Linked DNA regions of Homo sapiens: regions 2 and 3 are each linked to region 1. The links are contacts of gene promoters, found by promoter capture Hi-C in human tissues and cell types (Jung and others, 2019). All regions are on one chromosome and are shown on one strand. The core of a region is centred on a gene start or on the middle of the fragment in contact, and the rest is flanking DNA. Distances in the headings are between cores, read along the strand shown.

What was found. Contacts are between HindIII fragments. The study calls those that stand out against the background at their distance.
Region 2: a fragment that was not itself captured here is called in contact with the fragment with the promoter of MRPS31 in region 1 in 2 of the 25 tissues and cell types used here (H1 embryonic stem cells and dorsolateral prefrontal cortex).
Region 3: a contact is called between a fragment that was not itself captured here and the fragment with the promoter of MRPS31 in region 1, in 1 of the 25 tissues and cell types used here (mesendoderm cells).

The regions. Positions count from the first base shown.
Region 1 is chr13:40,769,382-40,773,236 of GRCh38, reverse strand. It overlaps MRPS31 (mitochondrial ribosomal protein S31), which reads left to right and starts at 2,047. Exons shown (of 7, transcript NM_005830.4): 1 at 2,047-2,252. The coding sequence starts at 2,101. RefSeq lists an enhancer at 1,989-2,158. The HindIII fragment of the contact is 6,562 bases long and covers 1-3,855 here.
Region 2 is chr13:40,178,844-40,182,698 of GRCh38, reverse strand. The region is part of intron 1 of LOC124903162; the gene reads left to right. LINC00332 (long intergenic non-protein coding RNA 332) reads right to left here and starts at 890. Exons shown (of 4, transcript NR_046870.1): 1 at 837-890. The HindIII fragment of the contact is 5,128 bases long and covers 1-3,855 here.
Region 3 is chr13:40,201,320-40,205,174 of GRCh38, reverse strand. The region is part of intron 1 of LOC124903162; the gene reads left to right. It overlaps LINC00548 (long intergenic non-protein coding RNA 548), which reads left to right. Exons shown (of 6, transcript NR_033877.1): 3 at 657-847. Among named protein-coding and RNA genes, the nearest start is that of LINC00548, 17 kb to the left of the region's middle. The HindIII fragment of the contact is 4,294 bases long and covers 1-3,806 here.

The sequences.
Region 1 (3,855 bases), core at 798-3,297:
GCACTCCAGCCTCGGTGACAGAGCAAGACTCCATCTCAACAATAACAAAGATACATTTTCATCAACATATTTATAATTCATACACTTTTCTGTATTGAAGTTGCTAAAGTTTATAGGAGGCCGTAGTTTTGGACAAGCTTCCTGTACTAGCCCCCAGCACACCAGAGCAAACCAGAATAGTCACTTGTGCTAAGTGCCAAGTAATCAAACTGAACTTTGAAATCAGGGCCAGTTTTCCAAAAGCAGGAGATTCACAGCACCAATCAGAGGGGCCCTAGTTTACCTGAGCCAGCATGACAAGGAATCCCTCTGTTTTAACCCTATAAGGAAGGTAACTTTGAAATGACCAATCTGATTTTTGTTCCCTGTTTCTATTTTCTTCAACTCTTTTGTGCTTGTAAAGCCAAACCCCTCTGCTCAACTCACTGGAACACTATTCTAGAATCACAAATAAAAACCAATTATGCTAAATTTGCCATAATTTTGTTTTTTGACAAAGTTATGCTTTAATTTTTGTTTGTTTTTTTACAAATCAGACAAAGTAAGCATCCCCAAGTGTACTGTGTAGAGCATTCAGTCACAAAGGTTCTGTTAGTGTTAGTGGATCTCAGGAAGATCTGCTCAATGTAAGCTGTGTTTTAGTATCACAAAAACTCACCTCCCCACCTTGATTATTTTTTGAGAGGACAGGGAAAATGTTGATGTAAACTTTGGAATGCCTTTATGGAATTTTAGGCTAGTGGTTCCCATGTGTCCTATTAGCCAACATTTCCCACCAGATTTATTCTCATCCCCTTCCAAGTTTGGGAACCCCACATCTCTTCTGGGGTCACAGTTCCCTGTTTCATGAGGGACAGGTAAAAGCCAAGTCTCTCTCTTGCATCTTTTCATCCTTTTTTTTTTTTGAGACGGGGTCTCACTCTGTTGCCCAGGCTGGAGTGCAGTGGCACAATCTTGGCTCACTGCAGCTTCCGCCTCCCGGGTTCAAGCTATTCTCCTGCCTCAGCCTCCCGAGTAGCTGGGATTATAGGCACTCGCCACCACGCCAGGTTAATTTTTGCATTTTTAGTAGAGTCAGGGTTTCACTATGTTGACCAGGCTGGTCTTCACCCCTGGCCTCAAGTGATCTGCCCGCCTCGGCTTCCGTAAGTACTGGGATTACAGGTATGAGCCACTGTGCCCCCGGCGTAAATCTTTTTTTCTTTTCTTTTTTGTTTTTTTGAGACAAAGAATCTCGCCCTGTAGCCCAAGCTGGAGTGCAATGGCGCGATCTCGGCTCACTGCAGCCCCCACCTCCCGAGTTCAAGCGCTTCTCCTGCCTCAGCCTCCCCAGTAGCTGGGATTACAGGCGCCCGCCACCACGGCCGGCTAATTGTGTGTGTGTGTGTGTGTGTGTGTTTGTATTTTTTTTTTTTTTTTTTTTTTTTAGTAGAGATGGGGTTTCACCATGTTGGCCAGGCTGGTCTCGCACCCGTGACCTCAAGTGACCCACCCGCCTCGGCCTCCCAAAGTGCTGGGATTACAGGCGTGAGCCACCGTGCCCGGCCATAAAGCTATTTTTGAAAAATGAAACCTATGTCTCATTTTGACTCTACATCAAAAATAAAGACTGAAAGGAAACGCTAATTCATAGGGCAGCAGGTCTTTTAGTAATTTTTTTTAAACCTCTTTGGTGGCCATGGCGCATTTTGAGAACGTGGTGAACGCTGTAGACCCTTCCCCTCCAAACATCGCAAAATATTGTCTGTTAAAGAAGAGACTGATCTCACTGGCACCATCTGTAGTTTTTGCACAACTGGTCACGCCCTCCACTGTCGGGTTCGCCGGTCTGGGACCCGCCTCGGCCAGCGAACCTTTGCTGAACTCTGGCGAGGACTCCGCCTCTAGGACTACAATCGCGGGGTGGGTCGGGTCGCTTGGAGGCAACTGGCTCCGCCCGGCCGCGGGCGAGTCCGGAACACAGTTACCCGCCCCTGTAGCCCACCGGAGCGCAAAGGGGGAGGAAGGCGCCAGGCCGGAAGCGGAAGAGAGGGCGGGGACGTGTTTGGCAGCGGGACGCACCATTTCAGTTGTGTTCTTGGTTCATTTCGTGTCTCGGCGATGTTTCCTAGAGTCTCGACGTTCCTACCTCTTCGCCCCCTTTCCCGCCACCCTTTGTCCTCTGGAAGCCCGGAGACATCAGCGGCTGCGATTATGCTACTCACTGTTCGGCACGGAACAGTCAGGTACCGCAGTTCAGCGCTGTTGGCCCGGTAGGTCCTCAGGCAACCCCGTGCCCCGTCCTGTACATCCTCCGACTTCCTGGGGTCGATGTTACCACCTGCTGGGTCTTAGAAGCTATTGCTTTAAATCTGAGGAAAGAGAAATCCCAGAAAGAAAAGATGACTTGCCCAAGGTCATAGTGTGCGTGAAAACAGAGCTACGATTACAAACCTGGTCGCTGTGCTCTACTACACGCCGCGCCTCATTCCTCTTGTCATCATCTCCTGTCAGTTTACCCAGGTTTTTATCTTTTGCCTCCCAAGATTTATTTGATAGTCTCATTTGTTTTCCTTCATTTATTCTTTAGTTCATTACTGAAAAACTCGAAAAACAGCGTGCCAGTACTGGTTGTAAACCCCAAGTGAGACAGTCCTGCCATCACGGAGCGTGTAGTTCCAGAAAGTAGACAATTCAAGTGCTATGTAGTGAAGTAATAGCTGAGATAGTGTAGGTAAACAGAGTACACTATTCAGCCAACATGAATGAGTACTTGCTGGGATAGCAAATAGGGACACCTAACCATTATAGGGGAGACTCAGGATATCGTTTCTGGAAAAGTCTGACGAAATCTGAAGGAGGACCACTGGTTGAAGTTAGCCAGGAAAAAAGGGAATTGTGGCATACTTGGTTTTGGTATTTATCCTCCGAGAACTTTATTATGAAAACCTAATTCCGCTGCATAAATTCCATGCGTAACACTCAGAAGGCAGTTTGGTTAAGTACAGTGCTGAAGCAGGTTAGTAGCAGTGAAGATGGGAAGGACCAGCTGAATGGAGGAGAAAAATTGCACAGGTAGAATTAAAGGGATGTGACGTCATGGGATAATGGTAGGGTAGTCAGAGATAGCAAAAATTTCAACTGGCTGCGTTGGAGTATTAGGGTATCCTTAATGTTAACAGAAGAATGCGGAGCCAGGCTTGAGAAAGATTTTTCCATATATTATAATTTTTAGAAAACAACAAATACCTGTTTATGTTAGGGGGCCTTTTAATATAGAAAGTGTGAAAAATGGAAAGTCAGTCTGAAAGAGGAGTCTTGAATGTGGTGTTGAAGGTGTTGCATTTGAAGTACTGATGAGCTGCTGTCAGTGGAAACAAACTCAGGTGGGAGGTTAGGTCGAGAGGTTTATTATTTTTAGTGCTAGGGAGTTACTTAGACGTGATTTTCCTATAATGTAGATTGTTTTCTGTGGTATGATAGCAGTCTTGAAAGAAAACATTGTAGTAAAGATTACATGTGAGATTCATTCCCCTGATTACCACTTTTCTATTAAAATACCTTGAATAGTAACTTTAAATGTAAAATAATGACCATTTTCTTAAATAGATTGTACCATATATTGAATATTATAATGAGAGTCCTGTGTACTGATTATGAGGATACTAGTTATGCAGTTGGTTTTTTATTCTAATTTTTAAGTGCCTGATTTGATAGCCTCTGACGTTTTCATAAGCAGATCAAATAGTTTCAGCATTTTTTGAAATTGCCATTTTCTCTTTCATGTAAGTATCCTTAACCTGCGGCTGCCATTTTCTGGCTTTGAGAACTTGATAATATATATATATATATATATATATATATATATATATATAT
Region 2 (3,855 bases), core at 887-3,386, 590 kb after region 1:
TATCTGTGAAAATAAATGCAGAAAGAAAAACTGAATATATGCTGCCAGATGGCTAAAGAGAAGATTAAGGGATGTGTCTCTGATGAATAAGCAGCTGTGATCTATTTCTTCATTTTATATATTTTTATTTTTTGAAATTGATAATGAGTTAGAAAAACCTTGGAGATTAATTTGACCTAGAAGCAAAGGCGAACATTATTGTGTTTTTTTCTGGTCATTCTCCCTAACACTGAAGGTCAAGGAGACAAATTATTTTTCTTTTCTTCTTTTCATTCATATATTTTCCCCTCTTTGCTTTAAATTTTGTCCTTGAAAATAAAATGGCTTTAGCTAATACAGGATTCTAATCACATTGTAAGACTATCATGATAAAATTGTAACCTTTGACAATGCAAATCTGCAAGATGTGGCAAGATGCAGTGATTAATATTTACTGTGCAGGTACTTTAAAACTCATTTGCCCTGAAATAACCAAGAGAAAGTTCTGTATGATAGAACTTTATCTAAACTCTCACTTACCTTGTAACATCTTTAAATTCTTACTAGTAAAATCTAGAATAAAAGAAGTCTAGAATAAAAAAAGTCAAGTAAAGACCCTCATAAAAAATATAAATCCTGGCTTATGTAAACTCAATGTATCTATCCAATTATAATAATAACAGAACAAACCCCAAAATATAAAATGAGGGGTGATTGTTTCTATTTCCATAGATTTTTTCAGATTTGCTGCAGGATTGTTTTAACCGAATATTCATCATAATTTACTTCTCCTTTTTTTTTTCTGCACACAAATTTTAGGGATAGATTTAGCAAATAAAACAAATATATATAATTACCCATTCGTTGAATCAGCATGTCTCTTGTAACTCTGTTCTTTGACTAGTTAGGTGTCACTTTTTCAGCTGTTGCTTTAAAAAACACTGATACCAGGCAGGTCTTCGTGACCCTACCAGATTGACAACCAAGGACTATTGTGGTGTTTACATTTCTTGGGTAAGTACAGCTTATCTGCCTCACATGCTGTGGGTGTAGGATTCTGGAACATAATCTAATATATGACTCAGCATTGTTAAGCACTGAAGGACTTCATGTGTCCATGGCTAGTTAGACGCATGCTTGCCACACATGGCCTCACCACATGTAGTAGCTTCCCACCTTGGCTAAACTCTCTCTCTTCTGCTTTTCTCAGAAATATGTTTCCAGACTTCTCAGTGAGAATGGCATTTGGGTACCTGTTATATTTCTAGTTGGCCATCCCTGAGTCACCAGGGTATGCCAAAGCATCACAGGGCCTTTTATTGTGATGTTAGACTGAATGTGATCGACGTGATAGACTGAATCATATCTCCCAAAATTGGTATGTTGAAGTCTTAAGCCCCAGTGTGACTATATCTGGAGATGGGGCCTTCAGGAGATAATAAAGCTTAAATGAGGTCATAAGAATGGGCCTCTAATCCAATAAGACTATGGTCTTACAGGAAGAGGCAGAGAGAGCTCTCTTTCTCTCTTTCTGCCATGTGAAGACACAATGAGAAGGTATAGTCTTCAAGTCAGGAGGGAGTCTGCACTAGAATCCAACCATGCTGGCACCCTGATCTTGGACCGCCAGTCTCCAGACCTGTGAACAAATGAATTTCTGTTGTTTAAGCCAGCCAGTCTATAGTATGTTGTTATAGAATCCTGAAAAGACTATTACACATATAAAACCTGGTAAAAAGAAATTGCTGAGAGGGCAATTTCTTCTAACTGAAAATACCTTGCCTCTTTCTATTCTGTCTTTGGAAATATTATTCCCTGTTTCTTCTATGGTGTTATGACTACTCATGGAAATACTAACAATTCTTATACTAATATATAACATTTACTGAGCTCTCACTATGGCCCAAGCACTGCTTGTACCATAAGTGATTACACAGTCTTTGGTATATAAGCCAGACACTGGTCTAAATTATTTTAAAATGTTAATTTTTATAACAACTCAGGTTGTTAATATTATCACCCCCATTTTACATGGGGTAACCGATGTTAAAAAAAAAAGGTTGTTTTGCCAAGGTTATTAATAAGCAAGCTGCAGAGCTCAGATTTGGACCAGGAAAGTCTGGTTTCAGAGTTCATACTGTTAACCCTTCTGTTATCTTGCCTATGAAAAGTTTGTTATAGCTCTTAAACCACACCACAGTCCTACAAGGCAGATGTTATTCATTTCCTTATTTTGCTGATGGAGAAACTGAGGCACAGAATGGCCATGTAATTTTCCCAGCATCAGACAGTCCAACCTGAGCCAGATAATTCTAGAGGCTTCCAGCCTTTTCTCCTCTGTGGGTCACCTCAAGATGACAAGGCTGGAGGCTGACTGTCTTCTGCAGGTGGTATTTAAGAAGAACTTCCATGCAAAGGGTCGAGGTGGTTAACAGCTACTGAAGAAGGGGGTGTGTGTTTGAGAGAAGCAGACAGAGATTTGTGATATTTTCCAGGCTGCAGGTACCAGATCTATGCCCTACTGAGTTCCATATGCTTTACCCAGGAACTACCATCTCAGAGGCAGTGAGAGAATTAAAATCTCTGGGCTCTGACTGTCAGATTCCATGTGTTCAGGAGTCAAAGCTTCATCTGGAGCTGGAACAACTTCTCTGGTTCAAAGTCTGCAGTGCACCTGCAGATTTCCCATTAAATTGCCTGCTGAATCAGGAATAATGATTCTCAGGGGGAAGAGATATTATTTGCATTTGAATTAATGTTGACTTTGGAGTCACAGATTCCTCATCAAGAAGGATTTAGAGCAATTGCTGATATCCTGGGGATCTGTGACCAGCTCATTATTTTCATCTCACAGGGTAGTACTAGAATTTTTAATTTTTTTTCAAGTCTTCTTTCGAAAGTTTGGCTCTCTTTATCCCCATGATCATAATTATAATAATTTTGAAACATCAGTCTGCTCAGATATCAAGGTGTTGAACGGATAATTTCACTTTAATGAATTTGTCTCATATGGGCTTATTTTCCACATCTGTCCTAAGCTGAATAGCTAACTGGTTAATATGAGAACTGTTCCGTCTCATTAGCTTCTCCCTGTTGATTTCCTTGAGGTGGAACTGATGCATTGCCAGTTGCAAGCTCTGTCAGCTCTTTCCTTTTAGGCAAAGCACACATCTAAATTCTATTCTAAGGCACTGATGCCAACTAAGAAGAATAAAAAATGAAATAGTTTGATCATCCAGATAAACTGCAGGATTCTATATACCCAGTGGCTTCTGAGAGATTAGCAAGTACTTGTTACAAACGTCATAAACCCTTGTACCTGAGGCCGTGGTGGGTAAATTGTACAAGTAAGGCCACAAAGCCCTGGCAGGGATGGGTGTGGGCTGAGGAGTAGAGAGTGAGAAAGAGGTTTGACTGGTGAACTCCAGAAGGGAGAGGACAGAGAAAAAGAAGGAAACAGAGTGGCAGTGGACCCAGGAGGCCTTGGTGAAGGTCTTGAGTTGGAGTATAAAATCTCCAACCTTTCAGCACTTTGAGAGGCCGAGGCAGATGGATCACCTGAGGTCAGGAGTTCAAGACCAGCCTGGCTAACGTGGTGAAACCCTGTCTCTACTAAAAATACAAAAAATTAGCCGGGCATGGTGGCAGGCGCCTGTAATCCCAGCTACTCAGGAGGCTGATGCAGAAGAATTGCTTGAATGTGGGAGGCAGAGGTTGCAGTGAGCCGAGATCACACCGTTGCACTCCAGCCTGGGCAACAAGAGCAAAACTCTGTCTAAAAACTCTGTCTTGATTGTTCCAGTAGCTAGGAGGGTATTTTGGGAAGGAGTTTAAGGTGAATGAAACTGTTAGTGGATTACTTAGCCTCCTGGAGAG
Region 3 (3,855 bases), core at 410-2,909, 570 kb after region 1:
CTAATTTTACATAATGCAAATTCAGTTCAAAGACTTCTCAGTACAGCATAATTGATTTTGACTTTCTTAGATCATAACATATGATACTTTTATTCTCTGGTGTTTTTATGCTAAGCTCTAAGAAATGTTGATGAAAATACCTGACCTACTTCTCTGGGCAGGTATTGTGGCTATCAGGCTGTCAAGTCAATCTCAACTTCCACTCGACCTTCCTCCTGTGGTCATGGCCTTAGCACCTTGGGTGGTGGATCCTCCACAATGTGTCCATTTCTAAGTAGCTCCTTAATCTAGTCATATATATGGCTTTCTTTCCATATCAAAGCTATAACCAAGACCTGCTTTGATGGAGACAGCTCTTGAGAAGACTGGCATAGATTATTCATTGAGTAGCTTCAGGGTTGGCCACTCTATCCATAGTCTCTGTGACTAGTGCTCAACCTGAGGAGTTCATTCCTTTCATATTCTAAGGAATGCACAACCTGTGCAACCACATGTGGCACCTGAATGCAGATTGCCTGTGATGTCTGCATTTAAAGCACAGACCAAGAATCCCATTTCTAATCTGTCTTGGGAGACACTGTTGATATTTCCAAATTTCTGGGTTGTAGGTATAGTAGATTGGCATTTGGCATTTATTCCAACTCTGTATCTCCCAGAATCCCTTGCAGCTAGAGTCATGGAAGCGAAGAAGTTTCCACAATTAGATGTGCCTATGCAAGATTTGAAAAGAGGAAATGTGACAAAAGGGCAGAGTTCTGCAGCTTTGACTACTTTTGCTGGCATGCAAGGTCTTGAAGATGCTGTGCTTTCCTGCAGCCAAATTCTACTGTATAGCCACAAGCTTCATGTGAGTAGAGAAGCAATTGTAGCAGCATGTTGGTAGTTTCTGTATCTCACAGCTCCAGGTTGTGTTCTGGAAGTCAACCATTCCTGTGGCACCCCACCTTCTAACTGGGGTAGAGGGAGCAGCTGCCTTGAAGGCTGGTTCACAGTGTCGTACTGGAAGGCATTCCTGGATCCAACCTTTAGCCTACCCTTCCAGCCCGTCCAATAGTTGTATGAACACTGAATTTCCTGTACTAAATCCCTTTCAGTTTAAAATAGCTAAAATCATTTCTGTTTTCCACCACTGAGTTCTGACAGATAGATTTATCAAAGGCAGCATAAAAAAGGTGATTTCAACTCTTTTTTACCTCAATTAAAAAGTGTTTTGTGACTGTTGCTAATAACTTCATCTCAAGAGCACTGTAAGGACTTGAGTTCTAGTCCTGTCTCTGCTGCCCATATGTTTGTGTGTGTGACCTTGAATAAGTCACTTCAGCCTTCAAAGTTCTTTTCCTTATCTATCAAACTGGGCACATAATGCCTGCTTTGTATGTGTGCCCATAAGTGGAGAGAATGTGAATGAAAGTGGGCTTTGGGCAATAAAATGTGACTGCTGTCTTTTTGCCTTAATATAATATAGTCTCCCTATGAAATCCTATCTCTTCCTCAAGGAAAGTACTAGTTAGAAAATGTCTATTCATCACAAAGTGAGAAATAAATAAAATAACCTGTCTTACATGTTGTTCAGGATTTTCTATGGCTATTGTGTTTGTCCATTTTGCTTTGCTGTAAAGGAATACCTGAGGCTGGGTAACTTATAGGGAAAAGAGGTTTATCTGGTTTACGGTTCTGCAGGCTGCCCGGGAAGCATGGTGTTCACATCTGCTTCTGGTCAGGACCTTGGGAAGTTTTTACTCAGGGTGGGAGACAAGGGGAGCTGGCATGTCACATGGCAAGAGAGGAAGTAAGAGAAAAGGAGGAGCTGTCAGGCTTTTCTTAACAGTCAGATCTTTCATGGACTAACAGAGCAAGAACTCATTACCGTAAGGGATGTGCCAAGCCATTAATGAAGGATCCACGCCCATGATAAAAACAACCTCCCACCAGGCCTCATCTCCAACCTTGGTGGATCACATTTCACATGAAATTTGGAGAGGACAAATATCCAAATCATATCAACTATTTTCAAACCAAATGTCCTGAGACACTCTGGAGAGAGAGTTGACATACCTGCAGGCATTTATAAATGAAGAGATAGATAGTGAGGTCAGTCAAGGGACCTTTGAAAGTCAGACAACTATCAAGATAAACATTAATATTATTTACCATGTCAATTTAATGGCTTACCAACAGATCTTGTGGAAAAAAGAGTCAGTTTATAACATCAAATAATACCATGTTGATGGCAAACCATTCATCCCCCTAGTTAATATATGTTGAATATTTGCAATGTGCAAAGTTTTCAGTTAGACATTGGGGCCCTATGCTAGATGTTAAAATAAGTATATTAGGGGAAATGTTACCGTATGTAAATTATACATCAGTTAACGTGACTAAAAAGAAGACACAAAAGTACGTCTCATAATAGGTATTCATTTTCCATCCTTAACAAAGCCTGTTTGTCGTGAATAACAGACTCACTGCACAATGTGCTATAATTCATGTCTCTGTAGAGGTCATTGCTCTTTGCCACACCCATGCCTGCCCTCATGCCACTGTTCCTCTTCATGGAAATCCCTTTCCCATCCATCTCTGCCTACCCAATTCTCAGCTCCTTTTGGGCCCTCGTCAAAGAAAATCACATACTCTGAGAAAGCTTTCCTGATTCTCTTTAGCCTAAATTAATCCCTCTCTGCTATCATAGTCCTTCATATATAGTATATGCTTTTTAGTATATAGTATATACTTTTCTAGTATATACTTTTTCTGTCTCATACGATTTTTTGTATTATTTTCCAGTTATCTAGATACATAAATATAAAATATTTATGTTTGCTATTTTAATTAATAGAATTTGGCATATTATAGTAGTAGATGGTTAATTAAGTTTGCTGAATTCAATTTTGAATGGATCTTACATCTATTTCACTGTACTGAATAGTTGAAAGAAAATAGCCATAAAATAGATATTGGTGCAGCCGAAGTGAAAAACAACATCTAAGTCTCCATCTTTCCTGTGATTTTCTGTCCTCTTTCTAGCCTCTCCCTGCCTACCTTTCCGTGTGAACAAGTGCACACCTATCTTGTTTGAGGCAGATAATTTATTATCATAGGCAAGGGATATTAGAGTGATAAGAAATGATGTCACCCTTGGGCCGGGTGCAGTGGCTCATGCCTGTAATCCCAGAACTTTGGGAGGCCAAAGTGGGTGGATCACCTGAGGTCAAGGGTTCAAGACCAGCCTGGCCAACATGGTGAAATCCCGTCTGTACTAAAAATACAAAAATTAGCTGGGTGTGGTGGCAGGCAACTGAAATCCCAGTGACTCGGGAGGCTGAAGCAGGAGAATCACTTGAACCCGGGAGGTGGCGGTTGCAGTGACCCGAGATGGTGCCACTGTACCCTAGCCTGGGCAAGAGAGCAAGACTCTGTCTCAAAAAAAAAAAAAAAAAAAAAGAAAAAAAAAAAGAAATGATGTCACCCTTTAGCTTAAAGTTTAATTCTATATAGTGCTAAGTGCATGACATGTCAGGGAGGAAAAAAATGTATAATTTACTCACATCCTGATTAAACAAAATAAATGAAATGCATAGGTGTATTCTGTAAGTGGTTATCCTGTTCACACTATTGAATTGCTAGTTAATTCTAAGGGTTATATAGATCCCTTTGAATTAAGAAAGAGGATGAGAACAACAGAAAGCCAGGAAAAAGAAATATTTAAGAAAGAGTAGAGGGCTTGCAACTGCCCGCCCGATGAAGTGAAATCTAAGGACTCATTAAAAAAGATTAATGTTATTAATAAAATGTAATACATTTATGTAGAGTTTTAAAGTGTACAATTTTGTTTACATGTATCATCTCATTAGACCT